Linked DNA regions of Homo sapiens: all the other regions are linked to region 2. The links are contacts of gene promoters, found by promoter capture Hi-C in blood cells and fetal thymus (Javierre and others, 2016). All regions are on one chromosome and are shown on one strand. The core of a region is centred on a gene start or on the middle of the fragment in contact, and the rest is flanking DNA. Distances in the headings are between cores, read along the strand shown.

What was found. The method cuts DNA at HindIII sites, captures the fragments that hold promoters and counts their contacts. A CHiCAGO score of 5 or more calls a contact.
Region 1: a contact is called between a fragment that was not itself captured here and the fragment with the promoter of RPAP3 in region 2, in 2 of 17 cell types (naive CD4 T cells and naive CD8 T cells). The highest score is 6.0, in naive CD4 T cells.
Region 3: a fragment that was not itself captured here is called in contact with the fragment with the promoter of RPAP3 in region 2 in 1 of 17 cell types (fetal thymus); the score reaches 6.9 in fetal thymus.
Region 4: a contact is called between a fragment that was not itself captured here and the fragment with the promoter of RPAP3 in region 2, in 1 of 17 cell types (fetal thymus). The highest score is 12.9, in fetal thymus.

The regions. Positions count from the first base shown.
Region 1 is chr12:47,216,654-47,220,243 of GRCh38, forward strand. It overlaps PCED1B (PC-esterase domain containing 1B), which reads left to right. Exons shown (of 4, transcript NM_138371.3): 3 at 1-36. Among named protein-coding and RNA genes, the nearest start is that of PCED1B-AS1, 2.0 kb to the left of the region's middle. The HindIII fragment of the contact is 3,475 bases long and covers 1-3,238 here.
Region 2 is chr12:47,703,645-47,707,376 of GRCh38, forward strand. RPAP3 (RNA polymerase II associated protein 3) reads right to left here and starts at 2,386. Exons shown (of 17, transcript NM_024604.3): 1 at 2,308-2,386. It overlaps RPAP3-DT (RPAP3 divergent transcript), which reads left to right and starts at 2,444. Exons shown (of 4, transcript NR_183480.1): 1 at 2,444-2,519. RefSeq lists enhancers at 1,600-2,101, 2,102-2,601, 2,322-2,616, 2,548-2,697 and silencers at 1,848-1,937, 1,968-2,257, 2,328-2,407. The HindIII fragment of the contact is 881 bases long and covers 1,687-2,567 here.
Region 3 is chr12:48,106,103-48,109,687 of GRCh38, forward strand. It overlaps a transcript of PFKM not described here. Among named protein-coding and RNA genes, the nearest start is that of SENP1, 1.8 kb to the left of the region's middle. RefSeq lists an enhancer at 1-723. The HindIII fragment of the contact is 618 bases long and covers 1,977-2,594 here.
Region 4 is chr12:48,199,098-48,202,616 of GRCh38, forward strand. The region is part of intron 1 of LOC102725258 (a long non-coding RNA gene); the gene reads left to right. It overlaps OR10AD1 (olfactory receptor family 10 subfamily AD member 1), which reads right to left. Exons shown (of 1, transcript NM_001004134.1): 1 at 3,242-3,519. The coding sequence ends at 3,242. Among named protein-coding and RNA genes, the nearest start is that of OR10AD1, 2.4 kb to the right of the region's middle. The HindIII fragment of the contact is 1,307 bases long and covers 796-2,102 here.

The sequences.
Region 1 (3,590 bases), core at 251-2,750, 490 kb before region 2:
AGAGAGATGCTTAAAAATCACCAGTTACTTTAATGAGTAAGTACTTTTCAGTTTTTCCATTTTATCTGAAACTTTAAGTTGGCATTTCTGACCAGCCTTTCTTGAGACCATCATTTTTTGGGCACTTACTGTAGACAGGAATCAGCACCCTAGCCTCCTTCAGCCCACCCCATGTAACACTAAAGAGACAACTGGTGCTTGGCAATAACAAAAATATTAGTGATTGATAAACTTGTAAATTTATTAAAATGGACAGTGAAAGAAAACAGCCAATTTAGTTGTGAACTGGAGAAGGGACGTGAGGCATCTGTTGTCTGCAATCTTGTATGTTGTGGTTGACCACAAAGGCTTGGCATCAGGTTTTACTTCCAGCACTACTTCTTATAAAATGGATGACCTTGGGCAGATTACTCAATCTTTTAGCCTTAATTTTTAAAAGTATAAAATGGAGAAAATTAGAATATGTAGTCCAGGTGCGGTGGCCCACACCCGTAATCCAAGCACTTTGGAAGGCTGAGGCAGGTGGATTATTTGAGTCTAAGTTCAAGACCAGCCTGGACAACATGATGAAACCCTGTCTCTAAAAAAAACTATAAAAATTAGCCAGGCATGGTGGCACAGGCCTGTAGTCCCAGCTACTAGGGAGGCTGAAGTGGGAGGATTGATTGAGCCTGCAGAGTTGCTGCAGTGAGCCATGATTTCGCCACTGAATTCCAACTTGGGCAACAGAGTGAGACAAGAAAGAAACAGAGAGAGAGAGAGAGACAGAGAAAGAAGAAAAAAAAAGAAAGAAAGAAAGAAAGAAAAAGAAAGAAAGAGAAAGAAAGAAAGAAAGAAAGAAAGAAAGAAAGAAAGAAAGAAAGAAGAAAGAGAAAGAGAGAAAAGAAAAGGAAAGAAAGAAAGAAAATAATTTCTTAGGTTGTTTTTGTTTTTGTTTTTTTGTGATGGAGTCTCACTCTGCTGCTCAGGCTGGAGTGCAGTGGTGCTATCTCTGCTCACCGCAACCTCCGCCTCCCAAGTTCAAGCAATTCTTGTGCCTCAGCCTCCCAAGTAGCTGGGATTACAGGCACGCGACACCACTCCCAGCTAATTTTTATATTTTTACTAGAGACAGGGTTTCACCATGTTGGCCAGGCTGATCTTGAACTCCAGACCTCAGGTGATCCGACCGTCTTGGCCTCCCAAAGTGTTGGGATTACAGGCATGAGCTACCGCGCCCTTCTTAGAGTTCTTAAGAAGAATAAAGAGATAAACTGGTAAAACATGTAAATACTTTTTGGAGGGTATGCTAAATAATGCCACTAAATAATTAATGTTGCTAAATAATAAGTTAAATGCTTCATTTAACTGGAAATCTCCCTTAACCACTAAGCCCACTTTCCAGATATGCTAAGGTGGCTCAGAATAACAATAGCAGCGAACATCTGTAGAGTTTACACAGCATTTCATTTGATTTCCACAATTAACTCTAAGGTAGGCAGTGCAGAGCTGTTGACTTATTTTTGGAGCTGGAGGAGAAGAGAGAAGCGAGAGCTCGGCTGGACACGGCAGCAGGGAGAAAAACCCCTAGGTCCGTTGTTGGCACTGAAGTGGGGAAAACCATGGCCTGGGGAAAGGCCTAATGTGAGAAGTTAGTCGGTGTGCATAGGCAGTATGACATTCATTTCACCAGCACAAGATTCTTGTTCCTCAGCTTCCTTAGTCCCTGGACCTTGCTTGTCCTTTCTTCCGCTCCAAGCCGTAGAGCTTGAAACTGGCAAGTCCTCAGTTGCACTGCCAACAGGCAAAGCAGTGGGAACTCAAGTTTCCAGAATCCTCTACAACATAGTGTGAGTAAAAGCCAAGGCAGAGACAGTGTCTTGCTCTGTCATCCAGGCTGGAGCGCAGTGGTGCCATCACGACTCACTGCAGCCACAAACTCCTGGGTGCAAGGTATCCTTCCACCTCAGCCTCCTCCTGAGTAGCTGGGACTACAGACATGCGCCACCACATCCTGATCATTTTTAATTTTTTTTCTTTTTTTTTTTTTTTTTTAGAGACAGAGGTGTAGCTTTATTGCCCAGGGTGGGCTTGAACTCCTGGTCTCAAGCAATCGTCCCTCCTTGGCCTCCCAAAGTGTTGGGATTTCAGGTGTGAGCCACTCTACCTGGCTGAGACTTGCTCTCATTTTTAAATTCAAAAAATGTTTTCCATAGATCGGCCGCCTGTGGAAAAAGGTGACTCAGGCCTGTAATCCCAGCACTTTGGGAGGCCTAGGTGGGTGGATCACCTGAGGTCAGGAGTTCGAGACCAGCCTGGCCAACACGGTGAAACTCCGCCTCTACTAAAAATAGAACAATTATCTGGGCATGGTGGCAAATGCCTGTGATCCCAGCTATTCCGGAGACTGAGGCAGGAGAATCACTTTAGCCCATGAGACAGGGGATGTAGCGAGCCAAGATTGCACCACTGCACTCCAGCCTGGGCAACAGAGTGAGACTCTATCTCAAAAAACAAAAATAAAAAAGTTTCTTTTTCCATAGAAACACTATTACACATAGAATTTAAATACTACAAAAATGGTAACAATAATGATAGCAACAATAATAAAATAATGTCCATTTTTAAAACTCTTTTGGGTAATCCCTTCAGAGGAGCATAGGTGCTATTTCCCCCATTTAAGAAGTAAAAAACTAAGTAGCACAAAGATAAAGTAAGCATTAGAGGTGGAAGAAATCCAGGCCTGCTGACTCAACCCTAGATTCCTGTTACTGAGTAAATGGACTTTTGTAGCTAGTCCTGGAGCAGAATTGTCACAATCCAACCTGTTCATCAGTTGAAAGCACTCGTCATTATTAGCTCTCCAATCGCCCTTGTTTTTCATCCATGGGAACTTTTAATTCAGCCACTGGTTGGAATCTAGAGTAGTCAGCATAAGCCTAAACATTTGAAACACAAATATAGCTTTAGTGCAGCACTGGGTTTTCCATCGGCTTTTAAGAAGACTAGCTAACAGAGTGATGAAAATCGAACTAAGTTATTTCACACCTGCTTTGTTTTCTCATGGAAAAATTTAAAGCTGTGCACAAAATATTGTTTTGTTTTTCAACAGAGAATAACAAGGAAAGCTACATGCAAATATTTCTTTCTAGATAATATGATTTTTTTTCTTCTTAATTTAAACAAGTATTTATAGCTGAGATTAAAAGCTCAGGCTTTGGAGCCATACTTCTTCCTAAAGAAACAAAAGGAAACCTTAAGCTTATCTAATTATTCAGAAGATTCACTGTCAATAATGGGTGTGGTGGCATGAGCCTAAAGTCCCAACTACCTAGGAGGCTGAGGAGGGAGGATTGATTGAGCCTGGGAGGTTGAAGCTGCAGTGAGCCGTGATCATGCCCCTGTACTCCCAGGTGACCAAGGGAGACACTGCCTCAAAAAAAAAAAAAAAAAAAAAAGAAGAAGAAGAAGAAGATACATTGTCAAAAGAATAGTTCTGCCATTTACTAGCTGGGCAACCTTAGGCAATTTATTTATTTATTTTTAATTTATTTTTTGAGACAGAGTCTCATTCTATTGTCCAAGCTGGAGTGCAGTGGCGCGATCTTGGC
Region 2 (3,732 bases), core at 1,136-3,635:
ATTTCAAAGGGGCCCGCCAAGTGACTAACAGGGAGGAGTGGGCAGGCAGAGTGAGGAATTATGAGGGAGAATGAAGGAAAAGAAAATTAAAGAGGTGGACATGGGACAGACTTGAAATGGCAGGCCATGAGGTCTAACCTATATTCTGAAAGTTATGTGAAAATATCAAGGTAGTAAAATAAAAAGAACTTGATGACTGACTAGACTGAGGTGTTGGAGAACAGAGAAAGACTCAAACAGTGGCCTAGATTTCTGGCTTGGGACCCCGGTAAGATTACTGATGCCATTTTGAGTCAAGAAATACAATGTTAAAAGGAAAAGAGGCATCAAAGTTGGAGGGCAAACGGAAAGTCAGATTATTTGTTTGGGATATGCTGAATTTGAGTGCTAATGGGGCGAAGAGATACCCCATAGGTAGCTATGTAGGAATAGAGATAAATTCCGGTGTCACTAGCAGAAAGGTAGAAGCTAGAATCAAGGATGTGGCCATGTTTAACCATTGTGACAACTGGGGAATGGGGTGAACCTGGAGAACACTAAACGGAGAAAGAGATGCCAAGGAAGAAAAAAGTAGGCAGTAGCACCTAGACAGTTGGGAGAAAAACCTAGAGTGTACTGTTACAGATGACAAAAAATGAGTTGAAGAAAGTGAGAGGTTAGCAGTGCCAAATGCCACAGAGGGAAAGAAAGTGCATTATATTTAGTCATAAAAAGACTATTCAGAGTTTTTGTTTTTTTTCTTGAGACAGAGTCTTGCTCTGTCGCCCAGGCTGGAGTGCAGTGGCGCAAACTCAGCTCACTGCAACCTCCACCTCCTAGGTTCAAGTGATTCTCCTGCCTCAGCCTCCCGAGCAGCTGGGATTACAGGTGCAGGCCACCACGCCCGGCTAATTTTTGTATTTTTTTTTTTTTTAGTAGAGACGGGGTTTCACCACGTTGGCCAGGCTGGTCTCGAACTCCTGACCTCAAGTGATCCGCCCACCTCGGCCTCCCAAAGTGCTGGGATTATAGGCATGAGCCACCGCGCCTGACCTCTATTTAGAGTTTCAATAAGATTTTTTTTAAAGGGTGGAAGGCCAACCGCAGGTGGCTCATGCCTGTAATCCCGGCACTTTGGGAGGCAGAGGTTGGGGGGCAGGGGGAATAGCTTGGGCTCAGGAGTTCCTAGATCAGCCTGGGCAACACTTCGAGATCCCCATCTCTACTAAAAACACAAAAATTAGCCAGGCGTGGTGGAGGGTGCCTATAGTTCCAGCTACTCAGGAGGCTGAGGTGGGAGGATCGGGAGATCGAGGCCACAGTGGGCGGTGACGGGCCCACTACACTCCAGCCTGGGACCAAAAAAAAAGGAGGGGGGGGAATGAAATGAGTTACGTAAATGAGATTATATGGAGATTACAGTACATTTGCCTTTGATAATATAAGACTTGTTCTTGAGCATAGTCTGGGGAAAAAGCAACAAAGTAAAAGATACAGGAAAAAGGATGAGTGATGGGGCAAAATCTCCAAAAAGGTAGGAGAAGAGTCAAAGCTTTAGGCGGAGGGAAGAGAAGTAAGGTGGGAGGGAGAGAGACGGAATTAGAAAAACATTTGTTTAGGACAGTGAAAAATACCTCACTAAGAAGGGACAGTTGCAGATGCAGATAGGTCTTCTGACTCGTAGCCTCAACAACTAAATTAGGTTTAAGCTTCTTTCAGGCAGTGTCCATGTTTGACCATATATGCACAACTCATTCAAAAACAAAACTAGTACAACGCTTTGTTGGGAACTCAAATAAATGAATAAAAGCGCAACAAGTCAGTGAGATGCTGACGGGGGTTAGATGCTTTTCCATTTCACCCATCACCGCTGCTGCTCGAGCAGGCCCAAAAACTCTCCCAGGGACCCTGCGATGGGGCGGGGGTGCGAGCCAGCAATCAAAAACTTCCAGCGCTGGGGGTATCACTTTCACACCCGCTGTCCCGGCGAACACCGCACACCCACGCCGCAAGGGGGCGGGCCCCACCTCGGTCTTTGCGGGAGGGCGGCTCTGCCTTCCCGAGCACTGCAAAATCGCAGCAGGGTGGAGGGTCCGCCTGCAAAGCAGAGCGCGCAGGCCCGGGTTGCGGGGGCGAGCCCCTCCGGGAACGCGCGACCCGAGACGCCGCTGCCCTGGACACCGACGCGCCGCCTCAACGCGCGCCTCCACCGCCAGCCCCGGCCCGCCCCGCCTCACCGGTACCCATAACCGCTACCCCTCCTCCCACCGGCCACCCCAAGGATCTCCTACGCTGCTCCGGGCAGCGAGAACCGCAACGCCCGCTCACCTGACCAGGCCGTAACCCGCCGCACTGCCACCCCGTCAGCCCCGCAGCGACTCACGCCGAGCCCGGCAGTGACTCACGCAAAGCCCCGCCTCCTGCGCTTCCCCACAAGCCCCCGCGGCCTCGCCCCGCCCCCTTTAGCCTGGGCTTGAGCGCGCGCAGAAGTCAGCTTCGTGACTTCCTTCTCAGGATGGAACCAGCTTGGTGGCTTGAGGGTATGTAAAAGCAATATCTGAGCCTTCTGCCTGCTTCCAATATGACTAAGCTTAAAAGGAGATAACCCAAAAACTGCAGGATCATCCTGATTTTCTGATCTCCAAAACAATAAAACCTTGAATATTTCCCTGGACTCCCTTAAACAGTTTAATCCCTAATATTTACCTTGCTAATCTCTGACCTTTGTGACATTAATTTGTCTGACCTTTGTGAGTATAATAACCATGTGAGAAAGTTACTGTTTTTCCACCATGAACAGACTACTGTCAACCGGTAATCCTGGTAATTTTAGGGGATTTTTTTTTCCCTTTAAGTACTGGTTGGCAAACTAGTCCTTCCGTCTAACTCCTCGCATCTTTTGCAAGTAAACCCCTTTTCTAAGTGAATCTATCTCTGAGTCTTTCTTTGACATGTGCCAGTGTTACAATCTGTCTTTAGATATGCTCTGGCTTACAGAGAAAAAAGAACGAAACTTTTAACACTTTTTGCTTCTGCTTCCCGTGTGAGGGAGTCTTCGTTGCAATGACAACTCTTAAACGAAAGCAAAACAAAAATAATTGCAGAAGTCCACAGAAGCAAACACAAACAAATGAAACTTTCCATTTAAAACAGGACTGTAACCTCAAATATCCTCAAAATCCAGATCGGTGGTTCTCAGTCTTGACTGAGCTTTGGAATCACTTAGGGAGTATATACATATACACGTGTGTGTGTGTGTGTGTTTGTGTCTGTGTGTGTGTGTGTGTGTGTGTGTGTGTGTGTGTGTGTGTGTATACTGATTTCTGTGTCCTATCCCAGAGATTCTGATGTAACTAGTCTTGAGTGAAGCCAATCAGAATTTTTTAAAGCATAGGATACGGCTGTGCATTTGAAGCTGGAAGCCACTAACCCAGGCGCTGATCAATGAAGAACTAGGCTGGAGTGCTGTCTTACAAGGTCATATCATTAGCACATCCTTCCCATTGCTTAATTATTGGTATCTTTATATTTTAAAATCATAGTAGTCAAATCATTAAGTGTACGTCAAAATATTTACTAATGAAATGATTCTTTGGTTGTATTAGGGAGATAGAGAACTGACTTTTAATAATTTTTTTATTAAGTATTTAAAAGCAAATATTGATTTACTGGTGTTTTTAACAAAAGCAACCACATTTGTTTTATTAATTCTGACAGAGTTGATTGAGAAGAGAGATAAGGGGGCTAGCTGGC
Region 3 (3,585 bases), core at 1,036-3,535, 400 kb after region 2:
CGGAACCGCCTTCACAGCACCGGAAGAGTCGCTAGGTGGCTGAAGAGGAGGGGGCTGGGGCAGGAGGTCAAAGAACAGAGTTAAGGACCAGTGGGGCGCCTGCGCGGTGTGGCGAGGCCCGAGAAGCGAAGGGAGCATTTAAGACTAGTCGTAATTTCTCAGTACCCTTTTCAGTCTGGGCTTTTTCGCTTTCTCGTACTCGGAATACTGTTAGTGAGCCCTTCGTCCTATGCTTTTCTCTGTTCCCTCTGCTCCCTTACCCGCCGCCTTCTGGTTCCGCCCGGCGAGTTTTGCTTGCTTGCGTTCCAGTTTCCATGGCAGCTTTTCGCGGTGGCCCTAAATCTGCGGAAACCTGTGGCTTCCCCCGACAGATAGGGACCTGAGATCTAAATCGATCTCAGGCTATCTCGTGTTTTATTGAGAATCACAGAACGTTAGTGCTTGTAGAGGTTATTGGAGATACTTTAGTCTTACCAGGTTCAGAGAAGTGAAGTGATTTCCCAAAGGTTTTAAGTGCACGGCCCATCTAGGACTAGGAAACAAGTTTCTTAACTTGCAATCCTGTACTCTGCACCACCTCATACTTGATTGACCATTCAGCAAGCAAACAAACAAACAAACAAGCAACTTGAGGACGGATTAGGCTAGACTCTGGCAAGATGTAGAACCTTCCAGAACTCTGGAGGAATTTGAAACAGGCAGAGCTGTGAGGAAAGCTTTTGGGAGCCCACTAGAGATCTGCTTTTCTGGGTAGAGATAGAGAAGGACCCAGGAATCACCTGTGACCTTTGAAGGGCTTTGTTGTTCCTGGGACACATTGATTAACCTGGAATCTGCCATACTTTCTAAGAGAACATAATGGGAAGAAATATGTTTGTTCATTCAGGCTTTTTGTCAAGCACCTCAGCTTGGCAGGCCTCTGGACCCAGGCCCTGTAGAAGTCTTAGAGAAATGCCCCCTTAATAGGTCCTTTACACCCAGATCACAGCCACAGGCACAGTCTGAGCTCAGACTTAAAGAAGGGCAGTTTCTGGAGGCCCCCAGCCTTTCTGATACTCTCAGCAGCTTGCTGAGTTCAGGGTTTCCTCCCCTGTCAAATACATCAAAGTAGATTATTTGTATTGCCTCATGTGCTGATACTTTTATATTATATTGTCAAGTCCTAAGGCCAAGTAGTCATGAGTGTAGCTGGTCCATGTCAGTCACTGACATCTTATTTCACAGCTCTGTTCGTTTGGATTAAACTCTGTCTCTATTTCTAGGAGGCAGCCATGCATAAAGACGAGTTTCATCTGAAATTTTTCATGTGTGTGATTCAGTCTCGCCAGTTAGTCAGGACTCCTCAGAGAACAGGTACCCTTGTCTCCTGATCATACTCCAGTGACAGAGAATGGGTTCTCTCACAAGAAGTCTAAATACAGGATGTGAGGCTTTCTAGTGTAAATACGGATTTTAGGGGTCAACTGACCTTGTTTATCACATTCTCACTTTGATAAAATATTGATCACTGAGTCGTGTATTTTCCAGGTAAGATTTTGACCTGGTTTGTTGTGATAGATGCCAGGCAGATAAGGAGGACTTGAGAGTTGAGGGGGGAACAAAATTTATCCCATGAGCTTGTCATTATTGTGTTGTTATGTGAATTACTTCGACCAGTCTGGGCTCATCTGTGGGAATCTTTATTGTCATTATAACTGACACTCCAAAACTATCAGATAAATCAAGCCCTAAGGAAAAATGGCCTTCTCATCCACCCCACCTCAAAGTATCTAGTTATATGTTCTGCTTTCCCCCATGTATGTCAAGGGAATAGAATCTTTTTGAGGTACATCGCGTCTCTAATTTTTCACTGGATTTTTGGAAAGAAAGCCCTGGACAGCTCAGAGTCATAGGGAAAATGAAAGGGAGTAAGGAACACTCCCTTCCCAGAATCCCACCTTGAGGGTGACCTAAAGCTATTGTTTCTCAGCTGGGGAAGCTTCTACTTCCAGCATGCTCATACCAAAGCCACCACCAAAGACAGACATCTTGAAGAGTCTAGATACTATGGATGATCCAGACACCGTGGGAAGCATACCTGTTTTCAAAACTGGTGAGGCATGTGGGTCAACAGTGAGAAATGTTCAAAGGAATATGGGAAAGTGAAAGTTGTATGCATAGTATTATAAATCAGCGTAGACCTACTAAAGCTGAAATATAAGACCCAAGGGGGAAAGTCTGTGTGTGTGTGAAACAGAGAGAGAGAGAAAGAGAGAGAGAAAGAGAAAGAGGGATGGGGAGGGAAAGGAAGAAGGGAGAGAGGTGGGGATGGATCATCTGGGAAATTGTAGGGAAACAGACACATCTCTATGCAGAATAACTTAATTTGGTCAATATTAAATCAATTGGCTCATAACTGTAAACTACTAATCTGGTTTATCCTATTGTCAGCATCCTTGATATATAAATATGTGAAACTTAAGAAAGTTGACTAAATGAGTTATTATTTTACAAAATGATTCTAAATATTGTAAAAAATTTTCATCTTAGGAAACCATTTAATAATAGATTTCTCATGTATTTTTAAATGTTCAATTCACAGGCAATTTATATGAAGCTTCAGAAACACATCTATGTATTTCGTCTTAACTTAAATACATCTATATTGGAGTCAATTCACTGGAAACCTTTATTGAGTTCCCGCTATTTGCCCAATAATATACTGGAAATGATAGATTATAAAACATATGTATAAGGCATATCCTTGCCATTGCCCCAATAGCTTACACTTTGGAAATGCCTTAGCGATTATTTACCCCAACTCTCTTATATTTTCAGAAGGAACTCAGGACTAAAAGGTTTTCCTCAGAAAGTTGATAATTTCATTAAAGTAACAACTCCTAGCACTTATGAAATATATATCAGTATTTAGCCATATTTTTGAGCACTCACTATTTGAAATCATTGGGCTAGACTCTGTAGGAAATGAGAAAATGAAATAGACACTTTCCCTGTTCCCTAGGAGCTTATGATTAAGGACGGGAGATAATATGGAACAATGTGTAAGTTAAGAACTTAATAATTTTGGTTCAAAATGTTGAATTGGTTCAAAATAAGATGCCATAGAAATGTAGGGTTCAAAATAACTTTGGTTCAAAATAAGATGCCATAGAGATGTAGGGAAGAGAACAGCCAGCTGACTGCTCAGAGCCAGCTTTTCTTTTCCTTCCTTCCTTCCTTCCTCCCTCCCTCCCTTCCTTCTTTCTTCCTTCCTTTCTTTTTCTTTTCTTTCCTTTTTTCTTTTCTTCCTTTTGCAACTGTTTGTGGTCTACATCCCTTTAATCAGACTTCCTTTGCCCCTGCATAGAAAGCAGCAAGAAATAAACCCAGCTGATGGTTTTTTCCTATTGTTTATTGAATTTGTACAGATTATTTCTTATTTGCCCTCATCTTTCCTGCTTTTTTCATTCTCCTTTTGCTCTGGTGTACCTAAAACTCACCTCAGACTCCCTTTGCTCTGATGACTCATTTGGACCTGCTTCTGTGGTTTGAACTCAGCATTGTCTCATGGACAAAATTCTGATGTTCAACTTCTGCCTTTAAATC
Region 4 (3,519 bases), core at 199-2,698, 490 kb after region 2:
TTCTTTAGTTTAATTTTTTTTTTTTAGAGATGGGATCTCGCTGTGTCGCCCAGGCTAGAGTGCAGTGGCGGGATCATAGCTTACTGCAGGCTGGGGTCAAGCAATCCTCCCGCCTCAGCCTCCTGAGTGTATGGGATTATAGGCGCAGGCCTCTATGCCATTGTAAATGCTGTGGATTTTGAGTATTTGACCTCTATGAGCCTCAGTTTTTGCATCTCAACATTGAGATAATACTAGTACCTCATAAGGTTATGTGACGATTAAATGGAAAGCTCTTACAATATAAGTGCTTAATAAGTATGTTATCATATGTGCTTCCAAAGTACTTTGTGTAGGCCTTTTATAACGCTTGCCCTTTCTATTACCATTATTTGTTCTTGCCTGCCCTACTAGACTGAGATTCTCAAAAGCTGGAACTGTCTTGTTTATAATCTCAGCGTCTGTCAGTGCTGGGCAAATGTAAAGCTAAGAAATGATTTCTTAGAAAACTTTTTAAAAGCAGTCTTTCTTCTCCTTTCCCTTTCTTCCTTTCCTTCACTTTTTCCTCTTTGAGATAGGAATTTTCAAACCTAGAGAAGAAGCTGAGACCCTAGGGGGAAAGATTGGGACCTTTTTGTTGTTGTTCTCAGTGGTGACCAAAAGAGCCTTAACATTCACCTCAGCCTGACAACTTTAGACAGGTTTCTTCTGGATGTTAGGGCCCTGACCTCCCCTTTCTTTGAGTGTTTACTTTAGAAAACTTGTGATTGCAAAATTCTTCTCTGCTCCTTTGAAATGTGTATAAATCTCCTTAGAAGCTTATGCCAGTTTTACGACCTAGGGAATGTCTTTCTCAAGGACCTGTGAGCCATCCCTTTGAAATGTAATCATCAAGGAAGATAGCACCCCTATCTCTCAGTCTCTGTGGGAGGGTGGGAGCCTAACCTCCTGTGGGTGCCTTGTTTGGAATTGTAAAACTACAGCTTGTTTTGAAGATACAAGAAAGTGTCCTTTTCCTTTGCAGTTAGCAAACACAGATGTCATGTGATTTCCCGTACAGCAGCTCTTAAAAACTTCCCAGACCCTTGTTTGAGTAGTGTTGAGTTTAATCTCGTATTGCAATAGTCTTAAGGTCTTTCTTGCCTGTTTAACTTTGATGCAAATTTTGACAATGGAAATTTTAGGTTCTGCATTTATCGTTTCTTCCCAATTACAGTGGTTTCTCCTTTCTCCTTGTTAAGAAGAGCTTCTCACATCCTCTGATTTCTGGAGAAATCAATTTGGACTCAAAAGATTGGAGTTTTGTGGAGTGAAGCTACTGTTTTTGTTTTGTTTTGTTTTGTTTTGTTTTGCCTGAGATAGAGTCTCACTCTGTCACCCAGGCTGGAGTGCAGTGGTGTAATTATGGCTCACTGCAGCCTCTGCCTCCTGGGTTCAAGTGATCCTCCTGCCTCAGCCTCTCAAGTAGCTAGAATTACAAGCATGCGCTACCACGCCCAGCTAATTTTTGTATTTTTATTAGAGACGGGGTTTCACCATGTTGACCAAGCTGGTCTTGAGCTCCTGGCCTCAAGTAATCTGCCCACCTTGGCCTCCCACAGTGCTGGAATCACAGGTGTGAGCCACCACGTGCTGCCAGAAGCTACTGTTTTAAGTCATCATTGCAAAGGGTAGTGTGTGATGCGCAGGAGTGGAAAGGGCAGTACATCTATTTGAGAGCATCCCAAATGAGGTCCATTCATATTATGGAAGTGCACTGCGAAATAAAGAACAGGCCTACCCCCTTGTTTTATTATGAAGGGGTATGAGAAAAATGCAATTTTCAAAGAAAGAGAACTGCTGAGGATGTAGTACCTTCTCAAAGAAAGCTGTGTTTGGTTAAGGTGAGAAGCTAGAGGAAGCCACAGAGGGCAGGGTTACAAATTGAAAGACTTCTGCAATGGTAGAGGTAGTATGCAGAAGGGTTCCTTAAAATACAGGGATCCATGTAAGATGAGGAGGTAAGGTGGAGTAGGATTGAGGTGGAATGAAATGAAAGATGGAAGAGAAAAAGGAAGGCAGTAGGGGGAGAGGGGAGTTAATTTGGGGTATGGATAACAGGGAAGGAAATAGGTAACCTGAGAAGCTTGGTAGAGGCACTTGCCACTTGCATGGGAAGGGAAATATCATGCAGACGGTCCTGTTGCTAAAGGAAGCTAGAGGATTTAGGAGAAGGGGTTTGGCACACTGGCCTCTATCACCCATCCGTCCCCGACAACACACAACACAGACAAATTGAGTGCACTGTTGACATTTAGTATCATTCTCCCCCCATGACTGGTGGAAGCTAAGAAGATGAAGTTCAGGGTGCTGATCTTTTTTTTTTCTTTAACTGACTTTTCTTATGTGAGTACTTACCCCTAGTTCCCTCTTTCTTCCCTTCCCTTCCCTCCCTCCCTCCTTCCCTCCCTTCCTTCCTTCCTTCTTCTTCTTCATTTTTTTTTTTTTTAATGAGACAAGGTCTTGCTGCGTTGCTCAGGCTGGAGTGCAGCAGTGCTATCATTGCTCGTGCAGCCTTAACCTCCCAGGCTCAAGCAATCCTCCCACCTCAGCCTCCTCAGTAGCTGGGACTACAGGCATGTGCCACCACACCCAGTTCATTTTTTAAATTTTTTGTAGAGATGGGTCTCCCTATGTTGCCCAGGCAGGTCTCAAACTCCATCCTCAGCCTCCCAAAGTGCTGAGATTACAGTCATGAGCCACTGCGCCCAGCCCTTTTTTTCTTGCTTCTTTACCTACTTTTCACAGGAATTGGGTAGATGAGGGTAGACCCAGGAAGTGAGAGTGGAATTTGAGAAAGAAAAACAGTAAAATGAAGAGCTGAAAAATAAAAGAGTTTATTTCTAAATGTATGTACGAAACTCAGGTTGGGGGACTAGCATGTAAAGGTATATACAAATAAAATGGAGTTAAGTGCACTTATTTATTGAATCCTGTTGTGAGAACTTAAGAGGAAAAGAAACTGAGGAAAAAAACTAAGGAAAATCCGAAATTCTCCCGAGGAAGGTCCAAGAAAAAACAATGTGGAAGTGAAGTCAGAGAGATAACATCAGGACATTGGACATCAGGAGGAACTTTCAGGTCTGATTCTAGTGCCAAGGAAGCCATGAACGCTCTTTCCTGGAGCCTTTCAGCATAGGAGAGTTACTCATCTGCCAGGGCTGGGGATGGGGTAACTCTCCCATTCCCCAGGTGAAGGAGCTTTCCTTTCAGGGCCTTCCTGCTAGACAGACTGTGGCTGGGCCAGCCTGGTTCTTCCAAGTGCCCTCACCATGGCCTCCTTAATTTCCTTGTTGCGGAAACTATAAATGATGGGGTTGCACATGGGGGTAATGATGGTGTACAGGAGGGAGAAAGGTTTGTCTTTGTCAGGCCCATGTGTGCTGTGGGGGTTCATGTAAGAGAACATAGCTGAAGTGTAGAGAAAGATGACCACAGTCAGGTGAGAGGCACAAGTAGAGAAAGTCTTCCCCCGACCTGAGGAGGAGGCTTTGCTGAGGA